Linked DNA regions of Homo sapiens: region 1 is linked to region 2. The links are contacts of gene promoters, found by promoter capture Hi-C in human tissues and cell types (Jung and others, 2019). All regions are on one chromosome and are shown on one strand. Each heading gives the region's core, a stretch centred on a gene start or on the middle of the fragment in contact. The rest is flanking DNA. Distances are from core to core; before and after follow the strand shown.

What was found. Contacts are between HindIII fragments. The study calls those that stand out against the background at their distance.
Region 1: a contact is called between a fragment that was not itself captured here and the fragment with the promoter of TMEM63A in region 2, in 1 of the 25 tissues and cell types used here (spleen).

What each region holds. Positions count from the first base shown.
Region 1 is chr1:225,339,577-225,342,318 of GRCh38, forward strand. DNAH14 (dynein axonemal heavy chain 14) reads left to right here. Exons shown (of 86, transcript NM_001367479.1): 69 at 881-1,125. Among named protein-coding and RNA genes, the nearest start is that of LBR, 87 kb to the right of the region's middle. The HindIII fragment of the contact is 4,973 bases long and covers 1-2,742 here.
Region 2 is chr1:225,881,003-225,883,801 of GRCh38, forward strand. TMEM63A (transmembrane protein 63A) reads right to left here and starts at 1,378. Exons shown (of 25, transcript NM_014698.3): 1 at 1,302-1,378. RefSeq lists silencers at 787-906, 1,467-1,626 and enhancers at 2,137-2,186, 2,247-2,296. The HindIII fragment of the contact is 9,047 bases long and covers 1-2,799 here.

The sequences.
Region 1 (2,742 bases), core at 101-2,600, 540 kb before region 2:
AAGTAACAGTGCTAAAAATGCTAATGAAGTTACATTTTCCTGAATAGACAACATGGTCCCCATGTTAGGAATGTGTGTTGAGAAGCTGCTGGAGGGCACTGTTGTAGAGGGCAGGCTTCAGTGATAGACCTCACTCTGTCATTTTCTGGCCATGTGATATGGGCAATTTGTTTAATATCATTAAGCTTCAATTTCACCCTTCATAAAGTGGAATGAAGTATTGTCTCTGCTTTATTAATCTGCCCACTCTTCACTATGACTGCTGCTGACACCACCCTGCTCCACGCCACCATCATTTCTCACATGTAACCCAGTCTGCCAGCTTCCCTCTTCCTCCTCTGCCTCTCCTCCCAGGCTATTCTCAAGATGGCTGCTACATGTTGGGTACAATGTACACTGCTCAGGTTATGGGTGCACGGAAATTTCAGACTTCACCACCATACAATTAATCCATGTAGCTTTACTTCTAAAGCTATTGAAATTTTTTTTTAAATGATAGCTGCTAGAGAAGTCTGATTTAAAAAGACCATGTCACTCCTCAAATCCCTCCATTGGCTTCTCACTCACTCAGGTAAAAACCATGGTTTTCACAATGATCTAGTGGCAAGTCAAAACTTCTACTATTTAACATTTTTCTGTACTCCATCCTTATGTGTAAACTAAACATAGTATGTACACAGTCTGTGGTTGTATTTTTTTAAGACTTCAATGCAAATGTATTCATATAATATAAATTGAAAGTGTACTTTGTATACAAAGCTGAAAAACACTAAAAATCTTGTGTACTTCCAGGAAAAATGCTTTATGTATTTTTAAATAAATTGGTTCATTTTTTTCTTCTACATGTTCTTTGAATAACTGGTGCCTTTCTCATGTTCAGGTTATACTTATCTACAGAAATAGACAACCCCCATTTTCTTCCATCAGTTTATAACTTTGTTACTATGATCAACTTCACTGTAACATTCCAAGGTTTGCAAGATCAACTCTTGTCTACTGTGGTAACTCATGAAGTTCCTCATTTAGAAGATCAACGTTCCAAGTTACTGGAGAGTATTTCCCTTGATGCCATAACTCTTGAAGAACTAGAGGAAAAAACATTAAATTTACTGCAGAAAGCACTAGGTAAGTCAAGATATTTAGTGATAGTAAGAGATCTTTGCAAAGGATAGAATAAAAAGTTATAAGAACCAAATTTTGAATTTGAGCCAAAAATACCAAATCTCCATTTCCACCAGGTAACTGATAAAGGTAGGTGAATCACCCCATTTCTAAACTTAAATATTGTGAATTTTGGTGTCCCTCAGTTCCACTTTTGCTTCAGCTCATTGTGTTGTAGAACATTTGCCACCCTGTAACTGGTATAAGTTCTAAGACAAATCTTACGGAATCTAGTTAGTTCCCTCCAAGGCTCTATGCCTGTACTTCAGGTACAGACATCTGTTATATGTCTCAAGTTAGATTACAGAGACTCAATGATTGGGTTTTCCCCAAGTATTAATAATGAAAAGATATTTTATTTTATTTTTCTTTATTTTTTATTTTTTTTAGACAGTCTTACTCCATCACCCAGTCTGGAGTGCAGTGGCGCAATCTCGGCTCACTGCAACCTCCGCCTCCTGGATTCCAGCAATTCTCCAGCCTCAACTTCCTGAGTACCTGGGATTACCAGCGCATGCCACCACACCCGACTTAATAACTAAAAGATATTTTTAAAGAAAATAATCCAGTGACTTTTATGTATCCCATTAAAACATGCTGTTGGCCGGGCACGGTGGCTCACGCCTGTAATCCCAACACTTTGGGAGGCCGAAGCAGGTGGATCACCCGAGGTCAGGAGTTCGAGACCAGCCTGACCAACATGGAGAAACCCCATCTCTACTAAAAATACACCAGCCTGACCAACATGGAGAAACCCCGTCTCTACTAAAAATACAAAATTAGCCAGACTTGGTGGCGCATGCCTGTAATCCCAGCTACTTGGGAGGTTGAGACAGGAGAATTGCTTGAACCCAGGAGATGGAGGTTGCGGTGAGTCAAGATGGTGCCATTGCACTCCAGCTTGGGTTAGAAGAGCAAAACTCCTTCAAACAAACAAACAAAAAAAGCTTTTAATTAAAGTAGCAGTAGAAATTATTTTCTTCTTCAGCACAAAAAATATCTAAGAAACCACAATCTTTACTGCATCTAAACTTAAAGAAACATAAATTCCTGAGTCACACTGATGTATGCCCCTAAGTCAACTGTGATAAAATACAGTTTATCTAACAATGGACTGCCTTTCTATTTTAACTTGTGACTCACTGGAACTTGAAGGTTTCTCAAACACTTTAGTCCTCAAGAGTATGTATAGAAATCATCTGTAGAGTTTATTACCTTTCTTTCTTTTTAAAAAATACAAATGCCCAGTGGGTACCGCCACAGACTTACTGAATCTGAACTTCCGCACATCGGGCCCTGGCTTATATTTATTTTCGAAGCTCTCTACACAATTATAATGTCCACTTCTGATTACATATTATTTGTCTAATCTAAAGCCCATGGTCTGAAAGGCAAGTCCATTTGTTACCAGATACTGTAGTAAAACAAATTAAAAGCTAGTTTTTTTAAAAAGGCAAAATTTTACCAATAGTAATAATAAGAATATAATTTTTGAAAGGGGAGGAAACCAAGTTTGATAGGGCATGAAGCACCCATATCCTGGGAGCAATATTGACCATTTCAAACATAAAAGAACCCAGG
Region 2 (2,799 bases), core at 128-2,627:
AGCAGCTCCAGGCCTTCTGCCTCAGGAGCTAACTCTGGTCTTTCAGATGCAGAATAAGGTTGCAAAGTAAAGTACAAACTTCTCCTTATGGCAACACCAAACAGGACCCAGTAACCTGGACAACTGTTTACCTCCTACCCTGGAGCACAAAGGAAATGACACAGCCCCTGGCTGAAACCAGAGGCAGTGTGGCTCAGGGATTATGTGAGCAGGCTCTGGAGTTAGGGTCTCAGCACCACGCAGTTCAGACAAGCAGCCTAACCACTCTGTGCCTTGGCTTCCTTCGCCAGGAAATGCGAGTGATGACTTTCTCTCACGGAGCTGTTGGGAGGCACAGATCCCAAACAACACCTGTAAAGCACTTAGCCCAGGACCCGGCCCTAGCAAGCAATTAGAAGCTGTCTGCCTTTATTTTAAGTCGCCCCTCCAGCTAATGGGAAACACAAGGGCAGGATCCCACCTGACGTCTTCTCTGTTAGAGCCCAACGAACAGCTAGGAGAGACCTTTGCCCCCACACTAAACAAAGGAGAGGGGCGTGTGAAGGGAAAAGGAGCCTCGGCTTCCGTTCATATCCCCCTTGAAGGCACAGCAGACTTGAGGATGACCTGAGAGGTGTCAAGGGAGGGTCAGTGGGTCCGCCACGCTGTCCACCCCTGCCCTTGAAGAGGACACCACCTGCCTGGGGCTGAATGACCAAGGCCCCTCCAGGGCCTCAGGTAGCTAGTCTTATCAGGTGCTGGAACCTTTGCGGATTTGGTTTCTTAGCAGAGCTCGCCTCACCCTTTCCGCCCCCGCCCTTCCCCCCAGTCCCCGAGTCCCCAGCCTCCCTCCTCAGGACTCCGCCAAGGCTGCAGGAAGTGGTCACCCAGGAACAGCCCGAGGGGTGGCCTCTGCCTTCCTGGCGTCAGGAGAGTCGGACGCTTGGCCCTTTCCCAGCCCGGCCTCGTATAGGGTCCGAGGAGCCCATAGCTGCACTCCTAGTTAGGTGGGAGGTCGGACTCCGCCGACAAATCCCAAAGAGAGGGGTGGGGAAGAAGGAGATACCAGCCCTGAAAGCGAAAAGCCGGAGAGGAAAGTCCTGAAAAGCCGCCAGGAATTCCCAAGGAGCGCAGGGCTGGAATGGAGGCGCTGCCCGGACCCTCTCCTCCCACCCAATCCCGCGTCGTCACCCCCTGCTTGGGGTCGGGGGCTCTGGGGTCTGCGTAGGCTGGGAGCCGTTCCGGAACCGGACACCTGGCGCGCACGTCCCGGGAAAGGCGGAGGGTGCATTGCCCCTCCTCACGCCCCCTGTCCCCTGTACCTGCGGCGGCGGCGTGTCTGGCGGGACCCAGCAGCGCGGGGCGTGTTCCGACCACTTAAAAGTTACAAAGTGAAACTCCGGCGCCTCCTGCACATGCGCAGAGCTGCGGCCACCCCTTTCCCAATTTGGAGTCTTGGCCCGCGGCGGCGCAAGCCTGTACGCAGCTGACTGCGCCTCCCGCGGTGGCCCTCGGCGGTCCTCTGCCCCGGCCTGGCCTCCTGGTCGCCGCTCAGCCCCGCAGCTCCTCCCGGAGGTCTGCAAGCCCCGGACCGGCCAGCTCACGTCCAGGCTCCAAGAAGGGATCCGCCGGGGCGCACCCTCTTCCGTCCCCCGGCACGAGCCCAGTCTCTGGACGCCTCCGGGAGAACTGGGCCAAGCACAGGGTGGTCGCGGCGCAGGGAGAGCATCTGCAAACGTTGGTCCCTGTAGTGCTTTGAATTTCCCCGAAGAGCTCTTAGACCCGCCCCGGGAGAGTGGGGTTGCGGGGGTGGTAGCATGGGGAGCTCAGCAGGATTCAGCCCGCACCTCGGCTCCGGGTAGTCGGGAACCGCGCGGAGCGCCCTGCAAGAGGCCACGGCTCCCCCGCCGCTGTAGAAGGCCGGACCGTGAAAGCCCGGAGGGTCTCCGTTCGGGCAAAAATGTGGGGGCGGGTCGCAGCATTTCCAACGCCCCCTGGGGCTAGTCCATTACTGCTCGAGCCAGGGCCGCCAAGGGCACCTACTCCAGCCCAGGTCCGAGAGCGCGGCATGCCTCCCGGCCGGGAGCCAAATGTTTCCAGGGAGCCGGTGGCCTCCACAACCGGACCGCAAGCTCGCGAGGGCAGGGCCGGCCCGCCGCGCCAGGGACTGCTGGGCGCTGCGCGGGAAGCGAGGCTGGGTTCGGGGAGGACCGCGCGCCCTGGGAATCAAGGAGCAAACCAACCCGTCCGCAGGCCCCTGTTTCCCTATCTGTGAAATGAGTGGTTGGACCAAAGCTTCCTCTCAGGTCCCTTCCAGCACCCCTCTCTGAGCTCTGAGCAGTCCTCACCCCACATGCATGCCTTTGCAGGTTCTCCGACCTCCCTTCCATTTCTGAGCTTTCATCTTTTTCTGTAACGGCATAAAAATATCCTCCTTATGGCCGGGCGCGGTGGCTCATGCCTGTAATACCAGCACTTTGGGAGGCCGAGGTGGGCGGATCACCTTAGGTCTGGAGTTCGAGACCAGCCTGACCCGCATGGAGAAACCCCGTCTCTACTAAAAATACAAAATTAGCCGGGTGTGGTGGCACATGCCTGTAATCCCAGCTACTAGGGAGTCTGAGGCAGGAGAATCGCTTGAACCTGGGAGGCGGAGGTTGCGGTGAGCTGAGATTTCACCATTGAACTCCAGCCTGGGCAACAAGAGCGAAACTCTGTCTCAAAAAAAAAAAAAAAAAAAAAAAAATTCCTCCTTACCTCCCTGTCCCTGATTCTAGCGCCAGTCTGTGGCTGTCCAGGAGTGGGGTGGGGAGGGTCTCT